Regions from separate parts of the Homo sapiens genome. Here regions 1, 2, 3, 4, 5 and 6 are each linked to region 7. The links are contacts of gene promoters, found by promoter capture Hi-C in blood cells and fetal thymus (Javierre and others, 2016). All regions are on one chromosome and are shown on one strand. Each heading gives the region's core, a stretch centred on a gene start or on the middle of the fragment in contact. The rest is flanking DNA. Distances are from core to core; before and after follow the strand shown. Region 1 overlaps MYCBP2 (MYC binding protein 2). Region 2 has its middle 13 kb from the start of SCEL. Region 3 overlaps SCEL (sciellin). Region 4 overlaps SCEL (sciellin). Region 5 overlaps MYCBP2 (MYC binding protein 2). Region 6 overlaps MYCBP2 (MYC binding protein 2). Region 7 holds the start of MYCBP2 (MYC binding protein 2).

Region 1 (2,824 bases), core at 133-2,632, 190 kb after region 7:
ACAGTTTTTTTTTCCAATATAGACTTTTTTGTTGGGCAAGGGGGAGTTGGTTTTTGTTTTTTATACAGATGGGAGAGCCAGGCGAGGTGGCTCACGCCTGTAATCCCAGCACTTTTGGAAGCCAAGGCCAGTGGATCACCTGAGGTCAGGAGACCAGCCTGGCCAACATGGTGAAACCCCGTCTCTACTAAAAATGCAAAAAATTAGCCAGGTGTGGTGGCGGGCACCTGTAATCCTAGCTACTCTGGAGGCTGAAGCGGGAGAATCGCTGGAACTCAGGAGGTGGAGGTTGCAGTGATTCAAGATCACGCCACTGCACTCCAGCCTGGGAGACAGAGCGAATCTCTGTCTCAAAAAAAACACAAAAATATAGAGATGGGGTCTCACTATGTTGCCCAGGCTGGTCTCAAACTCCTGAGCTCAAGCGATCATCTTACCTTGGCCTCACAAAGTGCTCATATTACAGGCATGAGCTACCACACCTGGCCATTGTGTGTTTTATTTAAGAAAATTTTCTTAAGTCCCTAATAAAATGTTATTCCAGATTATATTATCTTTTCTACCTTCCTAGTCCAAATTTTCTCTGATTTCTTTGCTCATTTGAGGAGCTGCTTTTGGGAGAGAAAGATACTCACACAGATAAAGCAAGTCAATAAACAAAAGTAGAAAGGAAGAGCAAGAAGTACCATCTGTCACAATTCTGAATCCCACGATTTTATTTTAAAGCATTGTGTTCTGTTACTTGATGCTTTTGAACCCCATCCAAGAGACAATCTGTAGTAGACAGTCTCCTTAAGGTCAGGGAAAGAAGGGAGTAACAAAGGTTAGAGGAGCGGTAAGGAGTGGAGTGAGGCATACAGATACTTGTGGGTGGTTTTCACTGGAATGTGAGTGCGGAGGTTGTTAATGTAAACAGCTCAAGAGTGTCTGGTATTGTTAGGAAGCTAGGGTTTTTTTGGTTTCTTCATTTTAAGAGTAGTAGTGACTTGAGAGTTTTATAAGTTAAAAGAAAGATACTAGTAGAAAAAGGGAGAAATTAAAGATATAGATGACAAGACTGAAGACTGAGAAACAGGAGGAGGAAATGGAATTAAGGGCACCTTAGAGAGCTTGCTTCTGTAAAAGAGAGGGGAATATGCATGGCAGTAGTTATGTTTTAGAGGAGGGAGGGACGAAGGGAAGAGGTTGAGGGAGACTACAAGTTCCCTTAAAATAGAAGATAGGAAAACGATCAGTTCAGAATCAAAAGAATGAGTTAAGTTAGGGGGTTGAGAAATGCAATGAATATTTGAAATATTGTTTGAAGGATTACTGGGCCACTAAAGACTCAATGAGACCACTGTATAGACCCAACTGGAATCCCCTGCCTAGTCCTTTATTGCCCTAAGTGTCTGGAATTAAAAGAGCCAAGAAAGAGCCAAGAAAGCAAATTATAGTACTAGTTGCTGAGCTGCTGTGACAGAAATAGCAATTAAGATTATCAGTTCTGGGAATGTGGACTCAGACCTAAGTTAGAAATGTGAAAGGACAAATGGAAGGTCCAAGGGATTTAGAAGATTTAATAAAATCCTAGAACAATATAGTGAATGCACTATAGTTAAAGAGTTGGAAAAATGCAGGCAATAAAGTAGAATATTTGTATTTGATATCATAGGTAGGGCACTTTAACAAATGAGATACTCTATTACATTGCCATGGGAGGGTGGCTGAAGTGCAGTGCACGTGGAAGTCACTACAAGTGCCTAAGTCTAGGAACTAAGAAGTTAGGCAGGTGGAAGATCATCTGCATGGACTTGAAGACACACAGATGATGTGACTCACAAAGTTAAAGATAAAAACAGGCTGGGCACGGTGGCTCACGCCTATTATGCCAGCACTTTGGGAGGCCAAGACGGGTGGATCACAAGGTTAGCAGTTCAAGATGGTGAAATCCTGTCTCTACTAAAAATACAAAAATTAGCCAGGCGTGGTGGTGGACGCCTATAGTCCCAGCTACTCAGGAGGCTGAGGCAGAGAATTGCTTGAACCCAGGAGGCAGAGGTTGCAGTGAGCTGAGATCACACCACTGCACTCCAGCCTGGGTGACAGAGTGAGACTCCGTCTCAAAAAAAAAAAAGAAAAAAAAGATAAAAACAATGTGTTTACCATTGGAGGAAGGGGTCCATAAGACACAATTTAAAGTCATGGGGGGATGGGAATAGTTTGGATCAGGAAGAAACAGAGCAGTTTGGTATAAAAATGAAAGAACAGGTAGATGACATAAGGATTTATGTTTTGGGTGGTGATCAAAGATGACAGATGGGGTACAGTATGGCAAAATTAATTGGCATAGGGCTCTAAACAGATCTGGGATAAAGTTACTTCAGTACAGGTATTAACTGAGGACTCATACAGAGTCAGAGGCCTGGCATAGGCAGGGACAGGTATGATTTTCTGTAGGGACTAGGGCAGACCCCTTACGCAGTCAGTACATTTTTTTTATGAGTATCTGACTGTGCAGGGCTAAACATGGTAGGACATAGAATAATGATTCCCTCTCATCTTCTCAAGGAAATAACACACCTAAATAGTTGCATCTTGCTGCCTCTTCTTTTGTATGTCTTATACATTTACTGCTGGAAAAACTATCTTTCTCCCTTCTTACTTCAGTTCGTTTAAAGTAAATGAACTTTAATCATGGCTGTTAATTGTAAAACATGACTCAATAAAAAAATGAAAGCTGGGAGATATGAAATCAAATTAGAAGTATTCAAACACCAATGCTGCTAACTTAAAAAGAAGTGAAAGTACTGAAAAGTTGCCTTCAGCACTGTTTGTGTCTATC
Region 2 (2,932 bases), core at 4-2,503, 200 kb before region 7:
CTCTTACCAGCCTACTTTCCATTGGATGCTATTCCATGGTCCTCTTAAGAAGCCTTGTCATGGTAGCATGTGTTTTTTTTTTTTCTGTGTTTAGAAGTTAATACTGGAGTTCTCACCATTTCATCTGCCCTACAGTGTCATGGGTAGAATTTTTCCTCTCAGAAACACTCACAAAACCTGACTTGTTTAGCCAGTCTAACCATAATTCTGCAATACAGAAACAGGGAGTAGTCCTTAACTTACACACCCATGGCCAACCCCATGTAGAAAGGCTGGGAAATTGAATTGTTTGATCTTTACTTATGCAACTACACTAGCCTGAAAAGACCCAGAACCACAGGGCATAAGGAAAGTTGGTTGACTTGATGCCCCCTCCTACACTGTCAGACTCCTGGAGAAGCTCTGTGATTCATTCCAGTGCAGGTCTTCAGAATAAAAGACTGAAATTTCCTTTCGTTCACAGCCAAAATGTGTGATTATCTTAGAAAACTGGGCCTTCCTGGCACCCCCAACATTGCACTACATGAACCTCCCCACACACTTCACCCATCTTGCTTTCCCATAAACCCTGTCAAATGAGTAGGTGTAGAAATGTAGAAAGCAATACAGACACATGCAGTACATGCTACTTTCCTAAATTGATGTATTTCCTTATGAAGGCTTGTCAAGTGTCACAACTTAAGTCTCACCATTAAAAGAAAAAGCCATCACAGGCGAAATGGCAAATTGTGAGCTGAAACAAATTTTTCTAAATTGATGCGCTCATGTCACAGAATCAAATATTATTCTTCCTGTATCCTACATGGGAATGTAAGCCACTTTTACATGCGCATTTACTTAAGGAAAGGTTGTGTTGTCCACACACTATTATATTCATCTTCAACTACAGAAAAGGGCATACATAAAGTGCATTATCCTCAATCACTAATATCCATAAGCAGATATTCCCTCTCTGCCTTTCCTTTTCCAACCAAGGTCTATTTTACATCTGTTGAAATAGATGGGTTCCAAATTAAAAAAAAAATATTAAGTAGGAGGAAATTTCTGTCTTACAGCAAAAGTAATCCCCAGTAGGTTTCTGATGAAGCAACTTTATAAGATCTATTGTCCTTGACTCTTTCTTCCAAATCTTTATTTCTCCCAACAGTAATGGAATGAAAATGAAATGAAAAATCTGGAGTCAAGCTGGGTAAAAAAAACCCCATAGGAGTCTCTACTGAAGTAAGACAAGGCTCAATTAGTGAAGCGATGGGTCATACAGTCAAATCAGCAGCTTTACTATTCACAACAGCAAAGACATGGAATCAACCTAAATGCCCATCAATGATAGACTGGATAAAGATAATGTGGTATATATACACCACGGAATACTATGCAGCCATAAAAAGGAAGGAGATCATGTCCTTTGCAGGGGCATGGATGGAGCTGTAGGCCATTATCCTTAGCAAACACAGGAACAGAAAACCAAATACTGCATGTTCTCACTTGTAAGCAGGAGCTGAACAATGAGAACACGTGGACACATGTGAGGGAAAAACACACATTGGTGCCTGTCAGAAGATTGCGGGTGGGAGGAAGGAGAGGAACAGAAAGAATAGCTAGTGGATGCCAGGCTTAATACCTGGGTGACAGGACAATATGTGCAGTAAACCACCCTGGCACATGTTTACCTAGGTAACAAACCTGTACATCCTGCACATGTACTGGCCAACAGGCTGTGGGACTTTTTCAGGTGCTACTTGAGTTGACTGCAGAAATTTCTAGAAACAGCGCCAATATATTTCACTGATTTCACAGAGGTAAATCAAGAAAGGTTAAAAATTATGTTGGTGAAGTCATTTTCTGTAAACAAACAAACATTTAAAAACTGCAACAAAAAAATTATCATCCAGAAAGCCTCAGCAAAGCACTTCAGATACCTCTGGGCAAATTCCTAACCATAGTAAACAAATTCTAATGTTCCACCTAGAGATTTGACTGCCCTTTGCGTAGCTGGGCAGCTTCCTGGGTCTCTCCAGGAAGGTATGCAGCACACCCAGTGGGCTGACCCACCCTTCACAGCCAAACCTGACAAGGCTGAGCAAATACACTTTCAAGGCAAAAACATTCTTTAGGGATTGTGCAAAGGAATTTGGCAGCTGTGTCTTCCCCAGGAAGTGTGGCATTAAGAACAAGTTCCTCAGTTGGGGGCATAGGATCATCCACAAAGTAGAAACCACTATTAAATTGTATTTACCCAGAAATCCACATTTACATTAAAATGCCTGTAGCCTACCTTCCTCTGCTACTTTAAGATATTAAAAAAGAAGTCACTTAATACCGAACCAAGTAAAGTATGGAACTAATACAGGATACTTTGCATAAATATCTTTTCTGCTTCTCTCTTTTCTTCCTTCCTCTCCCGTGAAGCAGATGCTGGCATTCACAGTGCAGCCCAGGAACCCAGTAAGAATGACTCAAGTATCTCCTTCATGCTAGGAGGGATGATAGGCTTCAGCCCAGAACAGAGCTTCCAATAGGGTTCTTTTTCAATCCTACAAGTCACTGTGAGCAGAGAGATAATAAGGTCCTTTTCATTCTAACCCTGTTTCCACAGGCAATATTGGTCATAGAAAAGTCAAAGGTGTAAGAGGTATTTGGTTCCAGCCTCTATCTTTTTATCACCAGGATCCTAGTAGACCCAAGCTGAGGGCACTAGCTTTCTGTTTTGATGTGTGGTCTGCTTACTTTGGGCAGGCTCTGCCATTGAGTGATGAAGGTGCTATTGCCCTGAGTGAATCATGTAAGAGTGCAGAGGTGAGCTGCCTGTCACCCTGGGGGAAGGGCTGAGTCTTTCTTGATTCCGAATGGGAGTCCATTGACATGGTCCCGTGAATCATCTGTGAACTACACATGACCCTCATGGATGCCAGAGTTGAGTGGGTGGAGCATT
Region 3 (2,927 bases), core at 258-2,757, 220 kb before region 7:
TTTCCTGGGCCAGTTCCCAGCTCAGCTAGAATCTTCATCATCTTTTGGGTCCTCTCAGCATAAAGACTTTAAAAATCTCACTCTTCCCTTCCCACCCAAGGACATAATGCCTCTTGGCTTACCTCACGAAGTCTTTACCACTCCCTGCTAACTTTCTCTTAAGAAAGATTGTGTGAACAAAGAAACTAAAATTGGTTAAAGAAGGGCTCATAGAGGAAAGAGAAAAGGAGAAATAAGGCAGAAAAGAAAAAAAGATGTGCAGCAGAAAGTAAATTAACACAATAAAGGATGATGGAAGAAAAGAGAAAAAAACAAGGACTTCAATTCTGACTGCTGAGATTTGGGGTCCTACAATAATAATAACTATTTTGAGCTTATATTTTATAGGTGTTGTCTCATTTAAGCCTTACATGCCTTTAGGTTGTTACTATTATTATACTTGTTCTTTAATGAAACTTAATGATGAATGGTTTCAGTGAAGTCAGAGTCTTCTTGCGGAAGGATAGGGCAGGAGTTGGAAATGTGGGCAGTGGTCGAAATGTAGGCAGATTTCTTTTCTGGAAGGAGTCTCAAGATGAGTAGTTTGCCTGAGGTTACATAACTAGTGAATCGCCCAGTTGGGATTCAAACTCAAATCAGCCTGACGCACAGTACCTATCTCAGAAGCCCGGGAAACAAAAAGGAGTCAACAGGAAGAAATTTACTCGACTAAAAAGTGGTAAATAAAAAAAGAACGAAATCATGTTCTTTGCAGCAACATGGATGCAGCTGGAGGTCATTATCCTAAGCGAATTAATGCAGAAACAGAAAACCAAATACCAAGTGTTTCCCCTTATAAGTGGGAACTAAACATTGGGTACTCATGGACATAAAGATGGCAACAATGGAGATCCATGGTGGAGCTCAACAGAGAAGAATTGGAGCAGACTTTCTTTGATCATTTTACCAAAGTATCATGAGATTTACATAGAGTGACATTTGGATATTTTAACTACCCCAAAATCTTTCAATCAATTTATCAAGCTTCTAATATATTTTTATAAATTACTATCTTTATAAAAGACCAAATGTCAATAGTTGCCCAGGGCAAATCTCTTTAGTGATGGAGAATATAAAAAAGCTAAAGTTGGCCGGGCGCGGTGGCTCACGCCTGTAGTCCCAGCACTTTGGGAGGCCGAGGCGGGCGGATCACGAGGTCAGGAGATCGAGACCATCCCGGCTAAAACGGTGAAACCCCGTCTCTACTAAAAATACAAAAAATTAGCCGGGCGTGGTGGTGGGCGCCTGTAGTCCCAGCTACTTGGGAGGCTGAGGCAGGAGAATGGCGTGAACCCGGGAGGCGGAGCTTGCAGTGAGCCGAGATCCCGCCACTGCACTCCAGCCTGGGCAACAGAGCGAGACTCCGTCTCAAAAAAAAAAAAAAAAAAAGCTAAAGTAGAATAAATAAACAAATACAGAAAAGGGGTCTAGAAAATGACACAGGGTGGCAAATTGCCCTGGTGGTATTCACTTTTGCTTCTGAAAAAGTCCTGAGGGTTTCAGGGTGCGGTAACAGTGCCAACCCCACCACTACTTGTTTCCCGGAAATCAATGAAACAGGGAAAATCCCTAGGAACTGGAAAAGGACAAATGCCATAAAACCATTTTCAGTAGAAGAATAAGAGGGGCTCTATAATTACAGATCAATAAACAGAAGAATTATCTTTTGGAAGATAAATAAAACAAACCATCAAACAACTAATTACCACCTAAAAGTACAAGAAATATATGTAAGGGGAAAACAAACAGTACTTCATGAAGTGTAAATATTAACAAGTCTATTTAAATCCATTTTTAAATAGTCTCTCAGAAACAAACAACTGTGTTTAGCCTGAATACACAGCCTAAAAGGAAATCCAAAAATCATCAGGCTGGGAAAGATTCATTTAGCCTTCTGTGATGGTTAGAAAGCAGCTATTTCTTCAGTCACACAACCTCACAATCTAAGCTTAGCATTGGGAAACTTGTTTACTGCTGGTGAAACAAGAGTCCAGAATGTAGCACAAATGAAAGCCCCTACCATACAATTTTCTCACTGTTGATTCTGGGGTTTGTTTGTTTGTTTGTTTGTTGAGACGGAATCTTGCTCTGTAGCCCAGGCTGGAGTGCAATGGCGTGATCTCGGCCACTGCAACCTCCACCTCCCGGGTTCAAGCTATTCTCCTGCCTCAGCCTCCTGAGTAGCTGGGATTACAGGCACGCACCACCATGCCTCTCTAATTTTTGTATTTTTAGTAGAGACGGGGTTTCACCATGTTGGTCAGGCTGGTCTCTAACTCCTGACCTCGTGATCCGCCTGCCTCGGCCTGATTCTGGTTTTTAATACACAACCCTCACCAGCTCTTTTTCTTACAGCCCATCTTTTCTGCAGAATGATAACAGCAAGCTTTAACATGAATAGTGGCCTATAATTATTTCATTTTACAAAAAACACTGGTCTAATATTCATTAATAAAAAAGCTATCCAATAAAAGTTATCTATCACCTGAGCCCCATCAGGGGCTATTTTCAGTTCTAGCTGAAAATACAAGTTAAATGAGTAAAAACTCAAATTTTGACCACAGACTATGAGCCAAAACCCTGTTAGTTATCTTAAATACTTTACTGTATTTCATATTCACAAAAGCTCTGTCATGTAGCTGTTCTGTATCCCAATTTTACACAACATAAATCTTTCTCACTATATTTAGAACATATGTGGAAATACAAGAAAGCATATATAAAATGTGGAAAATACAAGAAAGCATAAAGAAAGGAAAAAAAAATCAGACACCTTTAATCAATCACTGTAATTTTCTTCCAGGGTTTTTCTTTGCCCATTTAGAGCCTACTGATATGCATTTTCCAATGCCATTTAAGAATATTTAAATATTTATTTTGCAGCTACA
Region 4 (2,898 bases), core at 156-2,655, 240 kb before region 7:
AATTATGCCCAAAATGTCGGAGGAAAGATTCTTGCACTAGATAGGAGATGGAACTGACTGACCTAAAATTTCTCTTTCAAACTTAGGAATCTGTTTTTACTAGGCAAAGGGTCAAGGGACATGAAATTTGGGTTCAATGGAAAGATGAATCACATTTTCTAAGACTTTGCAGCTACAGCCAGAATTTTGTTGAAGGAAAAAACAGAATCAGTCATTTTTCTCCAGCAGCACCATGGCAAAGTCAGCCAGTCCATCAACAAACATTGAGCACCTACCCTGTACAGAGCATGGACCCAGGTACAGACAGGGAAATTGAGAAAATTTAAAAGCACTGATGTTTGTAAATGCTTGTTTTCCATTTGCATCACAATTCATAGCCCTGGGGTTTTTTCAACATGCAAACATCTCTTTCACCATCATGTTCTGTCTCATGAAGAATATTTGGTCACCATTGGTCCAACTACTCCTCTGTACCTGCTAATTACATAGGACTCAGCACCAGCAGAATGTGGGAGACCATGCAGAGGAGGTCGGTGGAGGAGGCAAGAACCAAACAAATACAGATGGATGTCTCCAGAAAGGGTCTTTGACTCTGCATTTGGAAGCAAGGCCAGCCCAATCCACAGAGCAGAGGCGGCATCTCCAGATACAGGCCGGTTTCAGGAGCATGGCAGCATGTGGCCCTACATTCATCATTATTTCAGGTTAAGGCATTCCCAGCAGCAGGACTCCATGAAACATGCTACCTCAAGTAGTCTGTCATTTAACATGCGAGCTCTATCATCTAAAACATTTCCTAGAAATTCAAGGCCCTACAGGAATTGAAAACAAGACTCTATATTTGAGAAAGAGATTGCTGGGGGAAAGAGCTGAAGTTTGGGAACAGCAGAATGTAGATGCTGGATCCCCACAAAAAAGAGGAGGAAGCTTTCTAATGCAGTCTTTCATAGTGTATCAGCAAGAGGTAGACACAGTGAGTTCATCCTACCTCTTCTTCTTTACAGGAGTAGTAGCAGAAGTGGATGCTATGGTGTTGGAGGTGTTGGCATTCAATGAACCGCCAGGTTGCCTGTTTAATGACAAGAACAACAATTAATCCCACTCTCAAACTTTTTCATTTCAGCCTACCTTTGAAAAGTCTTAAATTCTACTCATATTCCTGCCTGCTCTCTGTTCATAAAATGTTTCACTTGGGGATAGAAAAACAGCCAAAAATCTTCTTCCTTAGTTGACATATTTTAGAAGTTGTCAGGTTCTCATAGAACTAGCTAAAACTAAAGGAATAGAATAAAGAAGTGATTCATAAAATGACATTAACTGTCGGAAATTCAGACAAATCAATTCTGGCGTGCTACAGATTCACATTTCTTTTATTCCTGTGATTATATTGTGACTAACTAATTATGTTGCGGTTTTTTGCATTAGAAGCATTATTGCTTAATAAAAAATTTTAAATCATACCATCTTAAGTCTCTATCTGGCATTTATTCATATATGCAGAGCCTCAAAAATGGAAGTGACCCAGGCCCATTTCAAGCACTGAGAGGTGTGATCCAGTGTATAAATTACTTTATACATAAATAGGAATTCAAAAATAAAGTAAGTTTATAAATCTGTCTGATTTGGGCTGCTTATAACCATCAGTAGTACATTCCAGGGAAAATGTGTTCCATTTAAATAGATTTTTAGCTCACCCCATGTTTTCCCAATTCAATTTTCTCTGAAGGAGGAGGCATAGATGTGAAGGGTGGGTGGGGAAGGAAGTGAGGTGTGGAGGAAGGGTTAATTATTGTGAGAGTAGAGGGAAGAAAAGTCCTGTAGGGGAAAAAATAAGGAGTCTAGATTTTAATAAAGAAGAAGAAAGAAAGGATGATCTAAGCTTTGGTGTTTGGATAGAGTAATGATTGGCAATCTTTTTTTTCTGCAAAAGTCCAGATAGTCACATTTGAACCTTTACAGACCATTTTGGTATTGTCTTCTACTACTCAACTCTGCCAGAGCAATAGGGGCATGGCTGTATTCCAATAAAATTGGCCTGAGGTGGTTTTCCCTGGTTTTTCTTGAATACATAAAAAGAAATATACTACAATTAGAAAGAATACATACAACTTTGTTACTTCCAGTGATCTAAACATGGACATGCTCCTGGTAAGAGAGAAAGAAAGCAAAGTTTGAACAATGAAGAATGAACATTTGCATCTATTTGGAATTATTCCTGAATTTAGAGTTTTAAAAGTTAGACACTGGTGAGAGAAAGAAATAGAAAGCATCATATTTTAATAAATTTCATAAGATGATTTCATGATTTTGTCTCTTGTACTAGATTCCAAAGAATTTTTTTTCTTCTGAAAATTTAGTATCTTTTAAGCCCAATATTTTTATTTGTTGGGTTCAGTAATTTTCCTTAACAATAATAATGTAAAATTTGCATTTGCACCTATTTCATAATTTTGCCACCAGGACAACTTAAACAGAAACATAAATGTGGTAAGAATGGTGATTTGGAGCTACAAGTGCTCTTGATTCTTAAGCTAAACAACAAGGTTTTATTCTAGCCATGAACAGGAGTAATGATAGAGACTAAGAATTTACAGAAAGATATCAAGTAGGATTGAAGAATTGCAAGTACATAGGTAACACTTAGAAAAATATTATACTTGAGCCTTTCCCATAGTTAGTAGATACTGGTACCTATTGGTTAGTTGGTTATCCAAGGTATTGGCCTTATATGTTTTAGCAGCATCATTTCTGTCTGAGATCCTTTATAAAGAAACAAGACAAAAGTCTGGATAAATATTTAAATTATCAAACTCCTTTCAGACCATTTTCATGCTAGAATAGCTTAACAACATAGCCTTTCTCTAGTAAAGAGAACTATTTTTCAAGTGTTACATTTTA
Region 5 (2,905 bases), core at 245-2,744, 210 kb after region 7:
CCTGACTGGTTTTTTTTAATTAGGATGTTATCCCCTCCCACATTTTTGAAATATCTAAGCTATTCTGAGCTAAGACATTCTGCAGCTAAGACATTTAAAGTTGATTTAAAGTTCATATGCATGACTATGGTAAGCATCACATACAGGGACAACTTTCAGTGGATTTTTCTTACTTCAAGATGTCCCAAAAGGATAAAGCCATTTCACTCTTATCAGTGGGTAGAAGAGAGACTGTACTTGTTTGGACAGGTTTGTTTGTTTTTTCTAAGTGAATTTGGTATCTATGAAATGTATGACAATTTAGTTTTCCCGGTTTTCTCAAATTGTTGTTTCCTGTCTTTATTTTTATTTTTTTGTTGTTGTTCCTAATATGTTAAATTGATCATTTGATTCCAGTTCTGTCTTTTAGGATTGCTCTAGTCCTTCATTCATGATAGTAATTCACATTGGTTTGGAAAAGATACCCAAAAAAATTATACTTAACTGAGTGTTCTTTTTTCTTAATAACCTCCTGAACCTTCCACCTAAACTTTTCAAAGCTCTGTCCAGTATGACAACAGTGTGTTCTTCTTGGCATTCAGTTCTCATGTTGGCTATACAATATATAAACACATTAATTGAATGAGCTAGTTTATGAAAGTTTCAGCTTGTATACCATTTTTCGGATTCAAATGCACAACCTCTTTGCTTTGGTAAAGTACATTCACACTTAGGTCTAAGTTATTTGTTTACAAAAATACTTTAATAACTGTTATTAGGGTCATGTAAAAGAATGCTAGCTGGTTTAGTTTTTATTAAAAACTAGGTTAGTATGTAGCTAGCAAATGATATTATTCATTACTTTATCCACCTTAGGTAAAGGGTACACAAGAGTATAAACTTTTCTGGGTTTCCACTATCCATTAGGAAAGTTTAATTGATGAAATTAATTAGTTTGGAAATATAAGTACTATCAATTTCTAGCTTATCATGTTCGTTCATGTATAATATTAATTTGAATGTCTATTAAGAGAAGAATTTCAAAGAAACAAAATAGTGTCACATGTGCGAAATAGTTTTTTCCTTCTATGATAAATATTATTTTAGAAGAATGAAACAGAAGTGAGGAGTTAGTTTATTAATTTTGTGTTGCATCAGACTTTTTACATTTAGAAGTACTACTTAGGTTTCAAGAAGTTTTAAAGGTAAGGACAAAGGGAAAAACAAAGGAAAAATATCAGGATCAGTCAGGTAGAAAATTTATACTAGAAAATTTAAATTCATTCATATTCAAATTCAGTTTTAAATGAAAAATTGCCTGTGTCATAGCAGTAGCAGACAAAAGAACTAAGGAGAAAGGAGAACCTTTTTGTTCTAGCTAAAGAATCATTGCAAGTCTTTACAAAAACAAGCATAATTACCATTTTAATTTTACCAAATTTAATTAATAAAATATTTCAAAACAATAAACAGTAATAAAAGTTGATTTGTCTCTTCCAGGGAATAACAGTTTCTAGGTGACATTGTGTCAATATAATTTTATGCATATGTGTTATCAGTACCACCACTTTATTTACCACTATCTTGAAGCAAATTTGAAATCATGGCTTAGCTATGTTTCAATTAGCAATTTTCTGAATCATTACTTGCCTATAGTCCAGCAATGGAAATTACTTAGGTCTTGTTTTAAACTTCTTATTCGCAACAGGACGTCTCTAAATTTTGACTTCCAAATTCCAGAAAATGGAAGTCTTAATCTTTAGCATCACAAAAAAAAGTATGGAATCTGAAAATAGTTTTAATTTTTTAAAATAATTCAGAATTGTATTTTTTATACCGTGTTGGGAAAGGTAAATGTGGCAAAGTGCCAACATTTAAGACTCCCCAAGCAAGGTATTCTTCCCTGAACCTCACTACCATGTATCCCACTAGTATATCACCTATGCTTTAGAAGATGGCTTATTCTTAGTGAACTTCCCTATGCTATTTAGTAAAATGAGATTTATTTTTGTTTTATACCTTTGTGATACTAAATAAATCATTATGTAGAAGACCATATTTACTCAACTTTGTTTATACTGATAGTCGCCACTATGTAGTAAACACTGTACTTAAGCACTTTGATACAGCCTCATTTGAGATACTGTCTCTTATGTCTGTTTTACAGAGAAGGAAACATAGGCTTAGAGAGGATAAATGATTTGCCCCAGAAACATACATAGTAAAATGGTAGAGCCAGAACTTGAGGTCAATTCTGTTGACTACAAAGGCTATTTTAAATATTCAGCCTTACCTCGGTAAATAATGCAAAATCTACTTTAATATATATATATTTTTAATTTATATTTAAACTAGGTCTGGCATCTAGAGTATTAGCTTTGTTCAGATTGATTATTTTTCTTTTTATAGTTTGACTTTTTTTAATGTAACAGTAGTTTGAATGGAAAAAAAGATTTCCTGAATGTCATAACTCAAGATCCTGGTTAACTAGAAAAATTCTACAAAGACACACATCAACCGGTGCATGGTTTAACTTCATCTAGCATTTCTATGAGCATTATTATCTGTAATTCTTTGGTTTTTTTTTTCCGAATCATAGTTTTTACACCTATCTTTGGAAATTTGAAAATAATCTGGCACATTAAGTTAATTTTTGATACCTTTTCTTTAGAATCAGGCAACATTTTATTCCATAAAATAGAATATTTGGTAATTTTTAAATTAGCAAAATTATTTGATTTTATATACGTAGAAATTATTTCAAGTGTTATTCTAGTGAAGTAGAATGTTATAGAAGTAAAAGTTAACAAATTTCCCTTGTCTTATGTGTGTGCACACAGAGACATGAAAAAGAAAAGTATGTATATAGAATTTTCTTTACTGTTCTACAATTTACTTTTTAATTTAAAAACTAATTATATAGTTT
Region 6 (3,072 bases), core at 270-2,769, 230 kb after region 7:
AAAGATTTAGTTATCATTTGAGAAATACATCTGAAAAAGAAATATTTCTGCCATTATTTGTATGCCTAAACTTCAACAGGTATTTAGCTGTCACCACTTACAGATCTTAAGAAAATATTCACCACTATTAGAGATATAATAAGATATACAAATGCCTATTCTTTCTAACACTATGTAATAAACTTTTTTGCTCACATATGACAAGTGGTGTTCCTGGTATTTGGCAGATTCCATTTTTCAGGCAACCACAGAGGTTGTTTTCATGATGAGTAAATAACCTACCATTGTAAGTTCATATGCATTCCTAGAATAGAGGTAGCATCAGCAGGTATTCACCATTCCTTTGCATGCAGCTGTTGTGCAGGTCAACCACTAAGACACATCTGACACAGGGAGTAGGTAATCTTTGTCACGAACCCTTCCTATTTGTTAGAAATCCTACACAAGTTGTCCTTTTTTATAAATTAGAGAGAAAACCTCTTTCAGTTTACAGATGGATTTTTTGGAGAAAGGGATACCAAATATAAAAGACTTACTAATTGTTTGTCTAGATTCCCATTATGTGTGGTTCAGTTTCTGAAATAAATGTGATGATAAAGGTGATAAACATGTCTCCAGCTGTCAGATTAATAACAAAAAACAAGTATTCCAAACATCACATACTCAAAATTAATGGCCATGACTACTGATTTAATCTACCAAATATAATTTGTTTACCAAATTTGCCATATGCTGTTACTAGGTCAGTAAGATTAGATGGGTAGCAATTTTTTGAACTACTTTTGAACAGTTTAAGGGTACTTATTCATAGATCACATCTGTTTATCTGTGCTCTCCCAAGACAGCATTGATAGTTAGAATTCTAAATTGGGATTTTTTTAACCCTTTTTTCAAAACTTAGCCCCATCTGTTAATACTGTATTTATAAAACAGAGCACATAATATGATAAAGGAGGTTAATGATTGAATAATGAAGCTTTGCAAGAAACTAAAAAGCATTATGTTTTAGTTACTTTTATTCATCCAAAGAACAGGAAAAATTATCTTAAATATTGGCATGTTGCAATTAAACATTTAGTTCATCAGTGTGCCCTGTATAAAGTACTTGCCATACTCTATTATTTCACCATGTAATTACTCAGTTTGCAAGCATCTAACCCTTGCACATCAATAACTAATGTCACCTCTGTCCTGTGGCCTTGGGAGCCTTAATTGTAAAAAGTAGACTTCTGGAGAAGCTGAATACTTGGGAGTAGCAGAAGAAAAAAATCAAGAAAATTGGAATATATTACTCATTCAACACATATTTATTGAATACCTACTGTATTCCTGGATTCATTCTTGGTATTACATCAGTGAAGAGTAACAGACAAAAATACCTGCCCTTGACAAAGACTGGGGCAGATTCTCCAGCACTACTGTCCTGAGCCATAGAGAAATAGAGCGTGACTATACACACTTAACACATGCACGGAAGCATAAAAAACATTTTCCTACATCATCTGAATTTGTTCACATCCTTTTTTCTTTTAAAAAATAATAACATGCAGTTATAGCCAGTTAACAAATCTACCTTAATTTCCTAGGAACTGTCTTTGAAAAAATATAAATACTTCCAGATAGGTTTATGGATTTTCAGTTTTTTATACCACTTGAAACCCTTCAGTCAGATTGCTTTTCTCCTAACAACTAACTGGTATCACTTGCACTAAGAGTAGAAGTTTTTATTTTAAGGAGGAAAGGTGATGTTGAAGTTTGTACCATTTACTTGGGTCACAGACAGCCTGGCTCTAATGCCTCAAAGAAAAGCATAAAATAGAATGAAGGAGAGACACTGAATGAAGGCAGGGTGCTAAAAACAATTAATGTCCATGCAGAAACATCTAATGCTTTGCCTTAGAAAAGGGAGGTGATTCTTCTTTTCATCCTGTTTTTCTGTCATTCTCCTGACTCCTTGTTTTGAGGGTCCACAGTTCAGACTTTTACCACTCATTCTGAGGATCCACCGTTTCTGTGGTTTCCAAGGGAACACAGGCTCTGAGTTCTAAGCAGCTAAGCTTCCTGAACTTTTGGAGTGTAACCTGTTTATAAATAATTAAATAACAGCTTCAGGGCATTCATGTGCTCATTGTAAACTAGTCTAATCTGATCATAAAACAGAGTGCCTCTTAAGCAACTCTTTGTTAGCCTAATTGTATGCATACACTTAAAAATTATAATTGTGTCTATGCATAAATTCAGTTCTCTAATTCAACAAAACCCATACCGTTGCCCTAAGGATGCGAGGTATCACTCTGCTGGAAATTTAGCTCTACTCTACATTTAAAATACAAGTTTTCACATTAAATAATTTCTTATTCCCCAAAAGATTAATTTCTGTCTCTTTCTAGTCCCTCACTGAATTTAAATTCTAACTAGTTATTGCACTAGGGCAGAGGTTGAGATATCACTGATAGTTCACACTGGATTTGTTCAACCTGTTGTTTTGCGTCCATGAAAATAGTTTTTGGTGGTAATGTTGTGTAATGATGTGTAGAAATTTTATTAGAAATATTTCCCCCTTCTTTCCTTTATTCTTCAAGTATTTTAGTATGTATGACAAACAATATAAATTTTGTAGCTATGTTTTTTTATTTCAGTGTTTAGTGGCTAAATTATCAGTAAGTTATAATTTTATTAATAAGTTTCACTGTAAAATGGACCATACAGGTGATCGAGGAAACATCTCAACATCTTCTAAACCAGCCTCTACATCAGGAAAATCAGAGCTGTCCTCTAAACACAGCAGATCGCTTAAACCTGATGGACGTATGAGCCGGACTACTGCTGATCAGAAGAAGCCAAGGGGCACAGAAAGTTTATCTGCTAGTGAATCCCTCATCTTAAAATCTGATGCTGCAAAGTTGAGGTCAGATTCCCACAGTAGGTCATTATCCCCCAACCATAACACCTTGCAGACATTGAAATCTGATGGGAGGATGCCTTCTAGCTCCAGAGCTGAATCCCCAGGACCAGGTTCTCGGTTGTCATCTCCTAAGCCAAAGACTCTCCCAGCCAATAGGTCTAGCCCAT
Region 7 (2,789 bases), core at 139-2,638:
CACAAAAGCAGCAAGCTCTGAAGGAACTTAGGTAAGGAAACAAGACAAATACAAAAACTTAACAGGGCTAATTACAGTACTAAAATACTATGATTCCACATGTCTTGTCCTTTGTTCCTATGTTTATCCCACTGCTAATTATCTTTAAAAAAACTAAATGAAATCCATCCATTATTTAAAGCTTCAGAAAAAAATGCATTGCTTTCAGCAACCTTCCACCCTAAAACTAGAATTAATTTACTTTCCTATTCCTTGTTGTTTGCACTTCTCAAACACTAAGGAGGATTTTTTAACATTTATTTTATTTTTTTTTAAGAGAAGGCCATCCGAAGAAGAGGCACAGATATAAGAACTAGTACATAGATGAAAGATACAGTACTGGGATGACAGAACTTATAAATTATTTTGTCAGGACTGTAAATTAGGAAACTCTTCAAATTGAGAGTCAAAGGATAAAACGTAGTAGGAATCAAAGTGCATTGGCACGTATATTTCTAGAGCATATACTTAGATGGGGTTCGTAGGTTAGCTTGGAACAAAGGACTGAGCAAATGTTACTTTTTTATAGACAACAACAAGATATGTGATGGATCTGACATTTTCAGACGCTATACAGTCTCCGTCACAATTATTGTTTCAGATCGCATTCAAGAATTATCTTTAAAAATGTAAGTTTGGGCAGAAAAAAATAAACCATTAAATGACCACTGCCAAGAGATAAAAGTGCACTCTTAGGTGAGTGAGGAGTCAATAAAAAAGAGTAATTTAAAAAATATTATTGCTCCGTTGAGAACAAGAATTTGGGAATGACTCTGGCTTGTGAATACTAGCCTATCTGTTATACTTTCACACACAAAATACTTTCACACACAAAAAAGAATGTGCTAGATTACTACCTGTCTTTGTAAGTAAAAGCTGTGTTAAACAAGCGTAAATCCTAATGACAAAAACCATATAAAATAAGATCGCTAAAGGCACTTCTAATTGGGATGGTTTTCTCTGCCTTAAACTCTGAATTAACCAGCACAATTCACAGTAAATCTTCCTGTTGGCAGCAGAGCCTTGGAGAAGAGGTAGCAGAAGAGCGTGCCACTCCTCCTCTGGCGATGGGCACGTTCCCCCTTGCTTTCTGGTCCTCGTTCTTCCACCTGGAGGGAACCTGAAGTCGAACGTCAGTAGCTGACAGCCTCCCCAGCACTTTCCTTACTCTTCTTCAAGCTGCCAGTAAAACCCGGAGAAGTGGACTACTTCAGATTCCGCACAACCCAACAGCCCCAAACCCAAAGCCCCGAGGCGGAGGGAGTGGTGGCGGAGAGGGGGTGGGGAGGAAAAGGGGCGGCAGTTACTGAGCATGTGCGAGGAGTGGCGCATGCTCTGTGAGGCCGGCAGCTTCCCATTGCGGGTAGCCCCGGCGGTGGTGGCGGTGGTAGCGGTGGTGGCGGCGGCAGTGGCGGCACCGCCTCCTCCTCACATTCCCGGGGTGGCGGGGTTAGATGAGCGGCCCCAGTAGCGGCGAGGGCGGCGCGGGGGGGAGGAGGAGAAGAAGGAGGAGGAGAAGGAGGTCGCTGTCTTTGTAGTCTCCCTGCTGCGGGAGCCAGAGGCCGCCGCCGGAGCCGTCGTCGTTGGAAAAGGGCTGTGTGTGCGCGCGCGTGTCTGCCCGCCCGGCCCGCGGGGACGAGGCGGCGGCGGCGGCGGCGGCGGCGAGGATGATGATGTGCGCAGCGACTGCCTCCCCCGCCGCCGCCTCCTCGGGGCTCGGCGGGGACGGATTCTACCCAGCCGCCACCTTCTCTTCCTCCCCGGCGCCGGGGGCGCTGTTCATGCCGGTTCCCGACGGCTCCGTGGCTGCTGCGGGGCTGGGGCTGGGGCTACCCGCCGCGGACTCCCGGGGTCACTACCAGCTGCTGCTGTCAGGCCGGGCCCTGGCCGACCGCTACCGGAGGATTTATACCGCTGCGCTCAATGACAGGGACCAGGGGGGCGGCAGCGCTGGACACCCAGCCTCCAGGTGCGTCCCCAGGGTGCCCTTCCTTGCGCCCCATGCCGCCCTTCCTTGCGCCCCATGCCGCGCGTGCACCCGCGTGTGTGTGTGCTTGCGTGTGTGTACCTGCGCATTTATTGAGCTTTCAGTCCGCTCTGGATGTCTGTTGGCAGGAGCACTTATCGAGATAGGAGGGTGCGGTGGCTGCAGTTTCTCGTGTGTGTGTGTGTGTGTGTGTGTGTGTGTGTGTGTGTGTGTGTCTGCCTGCCTATGTGGGGGGATAGTGAGGGGTGGTAGGGGAACCTGTGATGCTGGAAAAGGCGATGGTGCTGGTCGGCTGTGACACGTGTGTGTATCGTTGAGGTAGGAGGTGGCATGGGTAGAGAGGGTAAGAGGATGATACACGAAGAGAATTGCAACAGTGGCAAGGGAAGTGGCGTTTTCAGTGTCTCTGCCGCAATGTTATTTGCACGTGCCGCCTCTCCCATGACATTCCTTCCAGCCCTTTCCACCTCCCTTCAATCTGCCTTTCACCAAGAGGAGTCATGGTATAGATTGGTTGAGTTTTGGATAAGCAGGCCCGAGGGATAGGCGTGAGGTTTGCTTTAAAAAGATTTATGAATAAGGGACGCAGATGGAGATCTGTGTGGATGCGAAAGGTGTCTGATAGAGATTTTTAGAGCTGTACTTTGATAACCGGGCCTTTTGGTCTTCTAGAAATGAGGTTGCAGTTACTCTTGTGATCTGATGTCCCATCGGCCATTTCTCTTCATCCTCTGTTCGATTTCCTCTGTTACTTACAGGCTTT

What was found. The method cuts DNA at HindIII sites, captures the fragments that hold promoters and counts their contacts. A CHiCAGO score of 5 or more calls a contact.
Region 1: a fragment that was not itself captured here is called in contact with the fragment with the promoter of MYCBP2 in region 7 in 1 of 17 cell types (total B cells); the score reaches 5.9 in total B cells.
Region 2: a fragment that was not itself captured here is called in contact with the fragment with the promoter of MYCBP2 in region 7 in 2 of 17 cell types (naive B cells and total B cells); the score reaches 5.7 in naive B cells.
Region 3: a contact is called between a fragment that was not itself captured here and the fragment with the promoter of MYCBP2 in region 7, in 2 of 17 cell types (naive B cells and total B cells). The highest score is 5.8, in naive B cells.
Region 4: a fragment that was not itself captured here is called in contact with the fragment with the promoter of MYCBP2 in region 7 in 5 of 17 cell types (M1 macrophages, total B cells, M0 macrophages and 2 more); the score reaches 9.3 in M1 macrophages.
Region 5: a contact is called between a fragment that was not itself captured here and the fragment with the promoter of MYCBP2 in region 7, in 2 of 17 cell types (naive B cells and activated CD4 T cells). The highest score is 7.0, in naive B cells.
Region 6: a contact is called between a fragment that was not itself captured here and the fragment with the promoter of MYCBP2 in region 7, in 3 of 17 cell types (activated CD4 T cells, total B cells and naive CD8 T cells). The highest score is 6.7, in activated CD4 T cells.

The regions. Positions count from the first base shown.
Region 1 is chr13:77,135,135-77,137,958 of GRCh38, reverse strand. The region is part of intron 52 of MYCBP2 (MYC binding protein 2); the gene reads left to right. Among named protein-coding and RNA genes, the nearest start is that of MYCBP2-AS2, 55 kb to the right of the region's middle. The HindIII fragment of the contact is 7,593 bases long and covers 1-2,824 here.
Region 2 is chr13:77,521,304-77,524,235 of GRCh38, reverse strand. No RefSeq gene overlaps it. Among named protein-coding and RNA genes, the nearest start is that of SCEL, 13 kb to the left of the region's middle. The HindIII fragment of the contact is 4,999 bases long and covers 1-2,932 here.
Region 3 is chr13:77,541,584-77,544,510 of GRCh38, reverse strand. All of the region lies in intron 1 of SCEL (sciellin), which reads right to left. Among named protein-coding and RNA genes, the nearest start is that of SCEL, 7.3 kb to the right of the region's middle. The HindIII fragment of the contact is 964 bases long and covers 1,026-1,989 here.
Region 4 is chr13:77,567,542-77,570,439 of GRCh38, reverse strand. It overlaps SCEL (sciellin), which reads right to left. Exons shown (of 33, transcript NM_144777.3): 6 at 2,692-2,760; 7 at 2,107-2,145; 8 at 989-1,069. Among named protein-coding and RNA genes, the nearest start is that of SCEL, 33 kb to the right of the region's middle. The HindIII fragment of the contact is 952 bases long and covers 930-1,881 here.
Region 5 is chr13:77,115,347-77,118,251 of GRCh38, reverse strand. The region is part of intron 55 of MYCBP2 (MYC binding protein 2); the gene reads left to right. Among named protein-coding and RNA genes, the nearest start is that of MYCBP2-AS2, 36 kb to the right of the region's middle. RefSeq lists an enhancer at 1-304. The HindIII fragment of the contact is 3,073 bases long and covers 1-2,905 here.
Region 6 is chr13:77,098,651-77,101,722 of GRCh38, reverse strand. MYCBP2 (MYC binding protein 2) reads left to right here. Exons shown (of 83, transcript NM_015057.5): 56 at 2,710-3,072. Among named protein-coding and RNA genes, the nearest start is that of MYCBP2-AS2, 19 kb to the right of the region's middle. The HindIII fragment of the contact is 1,081 bases long and covers 979-2,059 here.
Region 7 is chr13:77,325,693-77,328,481 of GRCh38, reverse strand. It overlaps MYCBP2 (MYC binding protein 2), which reads left to right and starts at 1,388. Exons shown (of 83, transcript NM_015057.5): 1 at 1,388-2,008. The coding sequence starts at 1,707. LOC127898562 reads left to right here and starts at 1,494. Exons shown (of 1, transcript NM_001414702.1): 1 at 1,494-1,577. The coding sequence starts at 1,494. The coding sequence ends at 1,577. It overlaps LOC107984564 (a long non-coding RNA gene), which reads right to left and starts at 1,437. Exons shown (of 2, transcript XR_001749930.2): 1 at 1,347-1,437; 2 at 284-1,218. RefSeq lists an enhancer at 909-1,238 and silencers at 1,429-1,808, 1,849-1,968. The HindIII fragment of the contact is 13,146 bases long and covers 184-2,789 here.